Linked DNA regions of Homo sapiens: all the other regions are linked to region 1. The links are contacts of gene promoters, found by promoter capture Hi-C in blood cells and fetal thymus (Javierre and others, 2016). All regions are on one chromosome and are shown on one strand. Each heading gives the region's core, a stretch centred on a gene start or on the middle of the fragment in contact. The rest is flanking DNA. Distances are from core to core; before and after follow the strand shown.

Evidence for each region. The method cuts DNA at HindIII sites, captures the fragments that hold promoters and counts their contacts. A CHiCAGO score of 5 or more calls a contact.
Region 2: a contact is called between the fragment with the promoter of NDUFB4 here and the fragment with the promoter of FAM162A in region 1, in 2 of 17 cell types (total CD8 T cells and fetal thymus). The highest score is 7.3, in total CD8 T cells.
Region 3: a contact is called between a fragment that was not itself captured here and the fragment with the promoter of FAM162A in region 1, in 2 of 17 cell types (naive CD8 T cells and non-activated CD4 T cells). The highest score is 6.4, in naive CD8 T cells.
Region 4: a fragment that was not itself captured here is called in contact with the fragment with the promoter of FAM162A in region 1 in 7 of 17 cell types (non-activated CD4 T cells, naive CD4 T cells, activated CD4 T cells and 4 more); the score reaches 10.0 in non-activated CD4 T cells.

Annotation. Positions count from the first base shown.
Region 1 is chr3:122,382,754-122,385,698 of GRCh38, reverse strand. FAM162A (family with sequence similarity 162 member A) reads right to left here and starts at 1,517. Exons shown (of 5, transcript NM_014367.4): 1 at 1,400-1,517. The coding sequence starts at 1,433. It overlaps MIX23 (mitochondrial matrix import factor 23), which reads left to right and starts at 2,468. Exons shown (of 5, transcript NM_001017928.4): 1 at 2,468-2,525. The coding sequence starts at 2,475. RefSeq lists enhancers at 1,333-1,382, 1,206-1,706 and a silencer at 1,473-1,622. The HindIII fragment of the contact is 2,247 bases long and covers 738-2,945 here.
Region 2 is chr3:120,594,821-120,597,765 of GRCh38, reverse strand. It overlaps NDUFB4 (NADH:ubiquinone oxidoreductase subunit B4), which reads right to left and starts at 1,430. Exons shown (of 3, transcript NM_004547.6): 1 at 1,227-1,430. The coding sequence starts at 1,406. RefSeq lists an enhancer at 1,020-1,359. The HindIII fragment of the contact is 1,375 bases long and covers 573-1,947 here.
Region 3 is chr3:123,595,014-123,597,958 of GRCh38, reverse strand. All of the region lies in intron 2 of MYLK-AS1 (MYLK antisense RNA 1), which reads right to left. Among named protein-coding and RNA genes, the nearest start is that of MYLK-AS1, 11 kb to the right of the region's middle. The HindIII fragment of the contact is 1,640 bases long and covers 545-2,184 here.
Region 4 is chr3:123,577,409-123,580,353 of GRCh38, reverse strand. All of the region lies in intron 2 of HACD2 (3-hydroxyacyl-CoA dehydratase 2), which reads left to right. Among named protein-coding and RNA genes, the nearest start is that of HACD2, 6.2 kb to the left of the region's middle. The HindIII fragment of the contact is 5,964 bases long and covers 1-2,945 here.

The DNA of each region.
Region 1 (2,945 bases), core at 268-2,767:
GCTTTGGTTAAGTGGTCAATAGTGAAGTTTTTACACATCAGAAGTTTGCAGAGATGCAAAAATATATTTATGCAAGATGCATAAATATATTCTCAAAGCAAGAAGATGAACTACTTACAATATACTCAGTATTAGTTCAAAGATGTCAAAGTAGTTCCAAGATGTCAAAGTTCTTTTCATGCAGTCCATTTTAACTTTTTTACAGAGCAATGATCCTTTCACTTGCCTTGTTGAAAAGCTTCATAATGTTAATAGGATGTACAGAAGATATTTTAGGTGAATTAGTTCAACAAAACTGACAAAATCAATGAAATCATAGTATTGAGGATTTTAGTGGAAGAAGTGTTTGCTTTTAAAGGAAGTAAATATAATAATACTCTCTAGTTTGAGACATGTTTTCCAGTCCATTCTCTACCGGAACACTAGATAAGCTGTGTAAAGGATAATCTTGAGGTGGGGAAGGTTATGTATCAAACTTGTGAAACTATGCAACATTCACTCTTTTTTTTTGCATTACTTCATTTACATTACAATATATATTTATATTATTTGAATAGCCAAGTTTGGGGCTATTTTTCCTTTAAAAATTTAATTAACAACTTTTTAATAATGTAGTGTGTGCCATTGAACAAAAGATCTCTGGTACCCAGAAAAGAGTCAAAATGCAAGCCCTCTGATTTCTCAACCCCTACTATGCCAAGGCTCTGCTGGTTCTCCCAAAAAAAAAGAATTAAGCTTTCATTACCTAAGTCCAAAATAGTCATCACACAAATGTCTACCACCAAAACAAACTGCAGATCCTTCAATTACACACTTCCTCCAAGAAATTCGAATCAATTAATTGTATAAGTGTTTAAAAGTAATGTATCCTCCATTTTAAGAAAACAATTATTATTAATCTCTAAGACCTAAATCCTTGGCCTAATCAGACATTTAATGAGTGGGGAAACTTCAGACTGGAGGTTTTCTGGGATAAACTCCAGAGAGGAAGGAGCAGGGGGAAGAGGGAAGACTCAAGGAGAGCAATAGATAGGGGAGGTTAGGGTGGAAAGCTGAATGCATGGGTAAAGGGGAGGTCTAGGGATAGTAGGTGCTTTACAGACTGAGCTCAGGGGAGGCTGAGGACGGGGGTGGGGAGAAGGGTAGGCGCGTGGGCAGTTAAGTTGGTGGGAGCTGGGTGGATGGAGATGAGGGTAATTCACGGGCAGTCTCCAATGCCTATCAGCAGCTGCTCACCTAGTTCCCTCCCACATGGCTACTAAGTAGGTAGGATTCTGAGGAACCGAGAAAGTGCGTCATGGAATGGAGCCACTCCGGGGCCCAGGAAGGCTTCAGGATTCCCCCACCCGCAGCGGCCGGGCCAGCTCCCCTACCTCCCATATCCCGACCGGCGTCTCACCTGCTGCCAGGCGCAGACCGCTGAGGCTCCCCATGGCCACTTGCTACTCCGCCGACCAGCGCAGAACTTCGCCGGGGACGGTGGCGCTGGTGAGCTCAATGTCACCCAGCGTTGGAGTGGGAAGGACGCAGGCGGCGCCGGGGGGCGGGGCGTGCGCGACGCGGTGTACAGGCCTGCGCCAGTGCGGGGCGTGTAGGACGTGCGCCACGCGCTGGAGACCCGCGGCGCCAGCCTAGTGCCCCTGGCGCCGCATCCTGAGCCAGCCTCGGAGATGGTCCTGTGGAGTGTGGCGCCGTGGGCCCTTGCCCTAGCGGATATGTACCCATGGGAGTACCTGTGTGAAATAGAAAGGAAATGTGCAACTTTCGTGATCTGTAAACTCCCGAAATACACCAGATAAACCAGTATTCCAGTATGCCGCTCTTCCAGTGTTTTCAATGAACATATGCTTTTATCAGAAAACACATAATTGGACTCTGCTCAGTGGCCCTATCTCTTGTTGGAGCATCCCTCAGGCTAATCTGAGAAATTAACATGTATGTTTTCAATTTGTTTTCTATTTACCTATTTTCTAAAAACATTTGATCATCTCCATCCTAAACACTTTACTCATACCCACCCACACTGCCAGAAATGCCGTTTTTTCTTGACGTTTCTTAGTGGTCCCAAATTCTTAACAAAGACCCCCCTGCTCCAGGGTCCGGGGAGGAGGTTAGGCACTGGAGTGAGAGGTATTAGAAAGGCCTCACTTGCCTAGATTTCCTTCAACGACCTGGTAGGGGAACCACAAGGAAATTGTTTCCCTTTTGTGAAAAGATGGGATTGGAGTAAACAGTCCCTTCAAGGTCTGACAATCTTTGATCCATGTATCTGGCCCAGTTCCAGGAGGACATGTTAAAAGGGTTGGGACAGCAGGGTGACAGGTTCCGAGGTGGATGCGGACCACGTTGAACTCAAGCCTTGCACTCAGCTTTCCTAAGGATTCCCCTCGTACTATATTTTTTGTCAGGCGACTCCGCGGTCACCTTTGCTCCGCGGTGATTGGCCTGCAGCGGGGTCCTCGTGTTTGTCCAATATGGCGGCGCCCAGTGGCGGTGTGAACTGTGAGGAGTTCGCCGAGTTCCAGGTGATGGGGTTTTCCTCATGTGGCAGGCATGTGCCTCCTTTTGTCCCCAGACCCTATTCCCTGCTTTGCGAGGGAGTATGAACCAGCTTTGGAAAAAGCGGGCAATTCAAAGCTCTTTTCTCGAGCCATTGGAGGTCATGGGGGGCGCGGGTTTGGCCTTAGGGAGCGAGGCTGCTCTGTAGGAGGAGGGAGGAGGGGGGTCATAGTTCTCTCCGCGGCTCTCCGGCCTTGTCTGGGAAGCTCTGGGTAATCTGCTGTGGTAAAGCTCGGGATGCGTGGATAAGGATTGTAACAATCTTGTAGCAGTTCCCTGAACTCAGTTTCCAGCTTCTGCCATTCCTCTCCTACTTTTGTAAGTAGAGTTTTTGTGGGAGAGAAGAAGGTGCAGAAGAGCTATTTAGTTGATAAAACATACTTGGT
Region 2 (2,945 bases), core at 181-2,680, 1.8 Mb after region 1:
CTGGAGACAGTATAACCAACTAGTTAAAAGCAGATGCTGTGGGTTACACAAACCAGGGTTAGAATTTTGCTCTATCACCTACTAAAGAGGTATCTCTGTATGACCTACTTGTCCTTCCCATGTTGTCTTCTCATCTGTAAAATGGGGACAGTAGTAGAGCTTAATCATCCAAATAGTTGTGATATGTAAATAGTACTCAAAAAGAGTTTTAGCACAGTGCCTGGCACATTGTAACTTTCATTCAATCCTCATAACTTCCAAAAATTCCAAAACACCAATGCAACGTGTGGGAAAAGTCCAGTCCTGTTCTGTTAACATCATATTTAACCTACTTAGTTCCTGTATAGAAAACTACCTAATGAAAGCACACCTGTTAATTACCAGTTTACTGGGCATATATTATGTGCTGCGAATGTTACACAGACTGTCTTATTTAACCTCATAATGCACATCATTTATATACGAAACCAGGAAACTATAATTCAGAGGAGTTGAAGTTGCCCAAGGTAACAGAGTTAGCCAATGAGTAGTGCTTTGGGTTCTGACTCCAAAGCCTAGAACTTCAGCAAGCTTCAGGGTCTTTAAAAGATGCAGGTTGAAGGAATCACTGTATTCCCATCAGGAGAGAGCAGTATCCCTATGAGCTGTGAACTGAAAGGTAAACACCAGCTCTTTAAAATTATATATATATATAAAATATATATGCATATATATAGAATATAATATATATGCATATATATAAAATATATATGCATATATATAGAATATAATATATATGCATATATATAGAATATATATATAATATAATATATATATGCATATATATAGAAACATTTTCTGAACACGCCTTACGAACGAGGCACTGTGCTAGGACAGTCACATACTCTATCTCATTTAATCCTAACAGCCTGATAAAAGAGTAAGCACTATATTACGCCCATTTTGCAGACAGAAAATCGAGGATAAGCAGAGTGAATAACGTTCTTAAGGTCACGCAGGCAGGAAGTGATCAAGCCAGGATTCAAACCCAGCCAGGTCTGAGTCCAGAGCCGGTCCTCTCGAGGGCCAAGCTCTGGCAAAGGTAAAAGGGTAGTGAGTTGGCTAGGCCTGGAAGAGGACCTGCGTCTGAGATACTGATCGGGAGCGGTGGCCGACCCTTTGCGTGGTCTCTCTCGGTCTCTCCCAGGACTCGGGCCCTATTCCCGCCTGGGAGGCCCCACACTCACGATGAGCCCTCGGCGGTTGGGATCGTTGTACTGAAGCAGGTACTCTCGTTTCAGCTGGGCTCTTATGGCCAACCGCTCGGCTTGCGCCCGCCGGGTTTCCGGAGATATGTTGTATTCGGCTGGGTCGAGGGTCTCAGGCAGAGTGCGCAGGCTCGACGGCTTATACTTTGGGAACGACATCTTGGCGAACCAGGGCACAATTGCGCCTGCGCGATTCTGAGGCCCTTTGTCTATGCTGACCTTCAGCTTCAGGAAGTGCGCCTGCGCGTTAGCAGAGGTTGGGGATGTCGTTAACAAGGAGCTCCGCCTCTTTCTCCTACCTTCCCGAACACGGCGCGTTCGCTCGGTGATATGCGCATGCGCGAAGTGCTCTTCTCGCAGTGCGCCCTGCCCCACCGCCGCTCCCCACCTACTCATCTGTCACCGCGCTGCTTCTTCCTAGCAGCCTTGTCTCTACTGACATAACCAGGGCTTATTATGTAAAGTTGAGCTGTGTGGGACTGGCTGTGGAGTCAGAAGTCCGGGTTTTCATTGTGGGTCTAACCGTGCTGTGTCACCTTGGATAAGTCACTTAAAGTCTCTGAGTTTCCTTTTCCTTATCCTGGAGATAATGACTCCTGTCCACCTAGCAAAGTTGTTGTGAGGATTAAATAAGCTAACAAATAGATCACAAAGTGCTTTGCAAAACAGAATTCCCTACCCAAGAAGAAGAGAATAAGCTTTTCTGTACTTTACCATGCTAGATTCATACAACATTAAGTGTAAGCTTATTTTTCACAGGTACGAAATAATGATTAATAGGAAAAATGATGTTATAAGAGAAATGTTGCCTGACTGACTATAGAAGGTCAGGAAGAAAATGAGATACTGAATAAAGCTCATGAGAAAACATCTTAGTTAAAATACTAAAACCTCTTGCCTAAAATCCTTAGCACTCTTCAGATGCAAAGAATTAAAAACATCCTTACAGGTATGAAAATACTCATAGGGGCATGTATCTTATTGTAAAAGACGATCTGGGGCGAAAACTGAAGTAATCAGAAACAAAACCTTCTCTGTCCCTACTGTCCTTCCTTCTCCCCAGTTACCAAGGAGAAAAACAACTTCAAGTTTCACAGCAGGGTCTTTGGGTTCCCCTTCTCCTCAGGGGAAAAAATGTAAACAATATTTCCATAACTCGGGCAAAGAAGGATGGATCAAAAGAGAGCCCCAGCTTGGCTGAAACGTCTGGGGGCGCGTAGGTATGTTGGGAAATGGTTGCTAGAAAAGGGACCTAGAAAGTGTTGGCATTTGAAATGATGAGAAGCAGCACTGCTGTCAAATTTATTCAACATTTTAATACTGTTTTAAAATATTTATTAAGCACCCACCGCGTGAAGCACACAGCACACTAGTCAGTGTTAAGTCAATCTTCTAGGCTCAGTGGGGGAAATCCAGACAAAATGGAAGATGGGGTGTTTGCCTTTCGGGAGCTGACAATCAGGCAGTACAGAAAGAATAGGCAGAAATGGTAATATTTCAAAGTAGTCTAATGTCCAGATGAATATAGAGCAAAATGGACTCATGAGGATTCAGGCTGAGAGAATGTAGAAAAAATGAACACAAGACGAGTTACTCAGACTCGATTTTAAAGGAGAAAAAAAAAGGAAATTCTGACTTGTTCAAAGGTGTTTTGAAATACTAAGAAAATAATACAATATGAAAAGCAAGAGCAGTTTA
Region 3 (2,945 bases), core at 115-2,614, 1.2 Mb before region 1:
TGACAGTTGCATCTAATGCCCTTCACATACAGTCAATGTTAGAAGAAGATTTACCCTGAACATCTCACTTTTCTGCATGGCTCAGGTCCTCTGATCGAAGGCAATTGCAAACAATTCAAGAATACTTATATAAGGAGACATCTCAGGATAGTAAAGCGTAGACATGTTTACCTCCCTGGAGATGGTCCAGGATAGTAAAGATAAAGAACTCTTCTTCCTCCCTTCCTGGACAAGACTTGCTTACATTCCAGAGTAAACTAAGGTTTCTCTCTCTCTGGAGAGGATGATGGGCAGGTCTCTGGCAGTTATATAGAAGATCAGAGTTTCCTAATTTTTACAGGGCTCCTGTCCTGTAATGCACCCCGCTGCATGTGCAGGTACCATCTCGCCCTCATGATGACCCTTGGAAACCAACATAGGATGTTGCTTGGGCTGCTGCTTTTGCTACAAATGATTAATTGTTTTTGTTTTTGACTCAGAAGCCTCATTTAAAAGTAAGTTTCTGCAAAACCATTTTTAATGGCTGAATATACTATTTTAAGCTTCCATCATAATTTAGTCAGTCTATACTGCTGGACATTTAGATTGTTTCCAACAGTTTGGAAATATTCTTATTGTAAATAGCATTGTGATGAATGAACTTTTATAACTAAATCTTTTTTCACATCCTAAATTCTTTCTTTAGGATAAATTCCAATGGCTGGGTGCAGTGGCGTGTGCCTGTAGTCCCAGTTATCGGAAGGCTGAGGTGAGAGAATCACTTGAGCCCAGGAGTTTGAAGCCAACTTGGGCAATAGAGCAATATCCTATCTCTAAAACAGATAAAAATAAAAAAGTTCCAAGAAGTGTAATTGTTGGGTCAAAGGACACGCATAATTTTAAAGTTTCAGTATATATTTATGTATTTCCAAGCTGTCTTCCAGAAAGTCTATCAATTTATACTTTCAATAGCAAAGTGTAAGAGCACAACTGTTCTTATACGCCTGCCAACAGGGTTACTGACATTTTGAGTAAGAAAAGAAAAAGAAGAAGACATCTATCTCATTGTTTTAATCAGTGTTTATTCATAAACGTGATTGAACTTCATTAGTGTGTTCATTAACTATTTGTAGGGAGACTATGGCCTGCAGCTGATCACAGCATCATCAAATACTAAGGCAACTATCACACAGCCTCTCACATGTGTCTCTTCTCTCCCCACATCTGCTGAGGGCTCAGTTCTTCCAAGTTCAGATTCTCAAAGAGATGAATCTGATATAGCCATTTCATATTAGGTTGTATCACCAGCCAGTCTAAGGCACCGCTAACTGGAAGTTTAGGGTGGAATTTAGAGTCTGATTCCTATCACCCATCCCTCTTTTCCTCCAGGGTTTTGCATGACAGAAAAACTAGATCACCAGCCAAACAAGAATCCAAATGTCAGCTGTCTTTTTTTTTTTTTGAGATGGGATCTTGCTCTGTTGCCTGCCCAGGTTGGAGTGCTGTGGTGCTATCACCATCCACTGCAACTTCAATCTCCCCAGCTCAAGCCATCCTCCTGCCTCAGCCTCTCAAGTAGCTGGGACTATAGACATGCACCACTACATCCAGCTAATATTTCTATGTTTTGTAGAGGCAAAGTCTTACTATGTTGCCCAGGCTGGCCTCAAACTTCTGAGCTCATGTGATCCTCCTGCCTTGGCCTCCCAAAGTGCTAGGATTACACCATGCCCGGCCCAAATGTCAGTTGTCTTCGTGGTTGGTCAGGCACCCAAAAACATACCCTTGAAGAGTTCTCTGATGCTGGCCAGTTTGGAGACAGCAGCAGGGTCACATCTCACCTTCCTGAATTGAAGATAGCTTCCTGGCCTGGCAGGACTGATCAGAATTCCACCCCAGTTCCCACTGCCAATCACAGGCAGAAAAACTAGAAAAGAGAAAGAGTGGTGCACTGCAAAGCAGAAGGAAGAGAAAGCCTGGCTGCCTTTCAGTTCAGTGACTGTGCAGAATCCCTTGTCTCCAAGTAAAAGCATGGCCCTGTGAATTTCACAGATCTTAACTGATCCTATTAATCTTTTCTCCTCGCTGTGAATAGGCAGAAGCCAGATATGTTTATTTCTAATATTCCTTGTGATAGGAGTTTTTCATTTTTGGCCTCCTAGTATCTAACACTTCCTATTTGGAAAAAAATCCAATAAAGAAGCTTAAGTATGGACAAATAGCCCCTTTTCCAGATCCCTTGTCTCTAGAATTTGGGCACAGGACCTTCCAATCAGACACTCCTACCTAAGACCTTGATTCTGGAGTAACAGAAAGAAGCAAATGGCACTTAGAATCTTTCCAGAGGTGGAAGAGGAAGCAATAAGGGTACTGTCCAACGTCTGATGGTGGTTGTGCCAATGACAGACGCAGTTGGATACTAACCAGATGCTTCCTGTGTATTGATTTGGTCTCTATTTCGGGCTGCCTAATTTCCCATGGCTCCTTTCCAAGTTCCAAGCCTCATTCTTCAGCTTTTCCATCAATTTTGTGAGCTATGTAATGTCCTTTCAATAAATTCATTTTCTCTCTAACTAACCGAGAGTTAGTCTCCATTATTTAGGAACCTCGAAATTTGGTTAGTACATATGTCTTTTTGTACCTTTTCTATGAAGACAAAAAGATAAGAAAGAGGGGTGCCCACCTCCAGTTCAGAAGTATCCACTATCCTGACTTTTGTGATAAACATTTCATGATTTTGCTTTATAGTCTTGGCATCTATGTATGTAGTCAGGGGAATGAGAATAATATGGTAGAAAATATGGCCCCTGTCTGTCAATCTCTTCCCTGAAAGAGATGGCAGTGACTCCAGTCTCTAACATTCTTATTATGTCCAGATTAACTATACGATAGCTTCCTAGATGACAATCCTGGTGCAAACCATCCTATTTCCTACTATCAGGATTCCTCTCTGCTTTTAATTTATT
Region 4 (2,945 bases), core at 122-2,621, 1.2 Mb before region 1:
CAGGCGTGCACTACCGTGCCTGGCTCATTTTTATATTTTTGGTAGAGGTGAGGTTTGGCTGTGTTTCCCAGGCTGGATTCACTCTCACGTTCTAGATCAGAAAGTTATCCATTTTGCTTTTGTTTTTTTCTCTTAGAAGGCAGAGGAATTTCTTTTTTTCTTTCTTTCTTTTTTCTTTTTTTTTTTTGACACAGGGCCTTACTCTGTTGCCCAGGCAGGAGTGCAGTGGTGGGATCTCGGCTCACTGCAACACAGAGGAATTTCAATAGTGTCCAAACTTAGGCATTTTAAGTAGGTGGTATGATGAAATGAGCTTCCAGCTGGAAGCCTGAGTACCTTTTTATTTTAAGTATAATAGTTTTCCCAACTGACTCTATAGATTTGGGCAAGTCTTTTCTCTCGTATCCACCTCCTTTTCATTTGTAAATAATTAGGTTAAAGTAGATTTCTAAAGTCCCTTACTACCCTAAATTTGAGTGTGAGGAAATTTTAACAAATCCTAATGTGAACCATTTTTTAAACTTAGAGGCTTGAACTTTTTTTGGAAGCGGACACTAGTAAATAAGTAGTACTTTCTCTTTCAGAACCTTGGCCAGTACAGTTCCCACAAGCTACAGAGAAGCAAATTTGGAGTCAAGACCATCAGACTTCCAGTACTTGATATAGTAGGGGGTTGTCCCCATTTGGAATACTTCAATAATTTAAAGGGGTTTCTATCTCTTTAAGACATCATAATATTAGAGCTGAGCACAGTGGCTCATGCTTATAGTCCCAGCAATCCCAGAGCTTTGGGAGGCCAAGGCAGGAGGATCACTTGAGGGCAAGAGTTCGAGACCAGCTTGAGCAACATAGCAAGACCTCATCTCTACAAAAAAAAAATTTTTTTTTTTTTAGCTGGGCTGGGTGGTGGGTACCTGTAGTCCCAGCTACTTGGGAGGCTGAAATGGGAGGCTTGAGCTTGAACCCAGGAGTTTGAGGCTGCAGCGAACTATGATTGCATCACTGCAATCCAGCCTGGATGACAGAGTGAGACCTTGTCTCAAAAAAAAAAAAACTTGGTAATGTTAGAAGTATAATTTTTAAAATTTAAGTATATCTTATGGAAGGTAGGGACATTAAACAGTGTCATACTTTAAAATCCACTCAGGAACCAAGTCTTAGACTTTGAAGGATTAGCCTGTTTATCCTTATAGAATTTTTAATAGGGATTTAGGAAAATATCTTGGATTTTTGGTTTTATCTCTGTTATCCCCACTAAGAACCAATTAAGTGACAAATCCTGGATTTGATTTTGGGAAAATGTCTGTGCATAAGGAAGTGAAGACTCCCAGGAACATGCAGGCAATTAACGTTGCAAAGGTCAGTGATGGAAGTAATCCCTTGGACTGGGCGATAGAGCAGGCTTGCTAAAACCACAATTTCTGTGGTTGAGGAGTTTTTCATTGCCTACCCCATCTACACTGTGTAATAATTAGATGTGTGTGGTATTGTTTAATTACACATAAGTTATCCTGATGGGAATTATTAGTGTTGACATATATCCTGTTTACAGGAGGAGAAAATGAATCCAGGGAAGGCAGCTACTCATTTATATCTCTTTATGCTAAATGTTATTCTTTATTAGGTTCTGTGGGAGTTTACTTAAAAAGGAAATCGAAATTACTTGTTCTCCAATTTCACATCTTCTTAAGAAAATAATAACACTTTGCTTTTTAAAAGACATAAAAACATTTACCAAGCAAGTACAAAGGAGCATGTAGTAGCAAGGTACAAAAGGAAGCCTGGCTGAGTACCATGGCTCACACCTGTAATCCCAGCACTTTAGGAGGCTGACATGGGGGGATTGCTTGAGGCCAGAAATTCAAGACCATCCTGGGAAACATAGCGAGACCCCATCTCTACAAAAAATTAAAAAATTGGCCAGGCATGGTAGCACATGCCTGTAGTCCCAGCTAATCAGGAGACTGAGGTGGGAGGATCACTTGTGCCCAGGAGTTCAAGGCTACAGTGAGCCATGATCGTGCCACTGCACTCCAGCCTGGGTGACAGAGCAAGACCCCATTTCCAAAAAAAAAAGTATCTATAAATAAAATGCTACTCATGGATAAAATGTGGTCTATGGATATAAACATTCATAAAATTAATAAAGGCAAATGAATTACTGATATATGCCTGGATAAATCTTGAAAAAATGCATGTGAAAGGAGGCAGATACAAAAAGTCACAAATAGTATGATTTCATTTATAAGAAATATCCAGAATAGGCAAATCCATAGTGACAGAAAGTAGAGGAATTGTTAGGGGCTGTGGGGAGAGAGAGTGGGGTGTGACTGCTAATGGTACAGGATTTCCTTTTAAGGTGATGATATTGTTCTTGAAATAGTGGTGGTGGGTGCACAACTCTGTGAACATATTAAAAACCACTAGATTGTACAGTTTAAAATTGTGAATTTTGTGGCATGTGAATTATATGTCAGTTTTTAAAAAACGAGTTCCTCTGTAATGAGTTGTGGGTGTTTTCTACTTTATTCATTTTTGGAGTCCATGATATTCATTGATGAGGCAGATGTTATCTTTGCATATTTGTCAAGTATAGTTAGATTAAAAATTAGTGGACTAATGCAGTTATGGCAGTTTAAAATTATGTTTGAGAGAATTTGGGTTTCTAAATATCTTTGGTTAACATAAGACTGTAATTATAGCAAAGACACTTTCTTTTTTTTTTTTTTTTTTGAGACAGAGTCTCACTCCATCGCCCAGGCTGGAGTGCAGTGGCGCGATCTCGGCTCACTGCAAGCTCCGCCTCCCGGGTTCACGCCATTCTCCTGCCTCAGCTTCCCGAGTAGCTGGGACTACAGGCGCCCGCCACCACACCCGGCTAATTTTTTGTATTTTTAGTAGAGACGGGGTTTCACCATGTTAGCCAGGATGGTCTCGATCTCCTG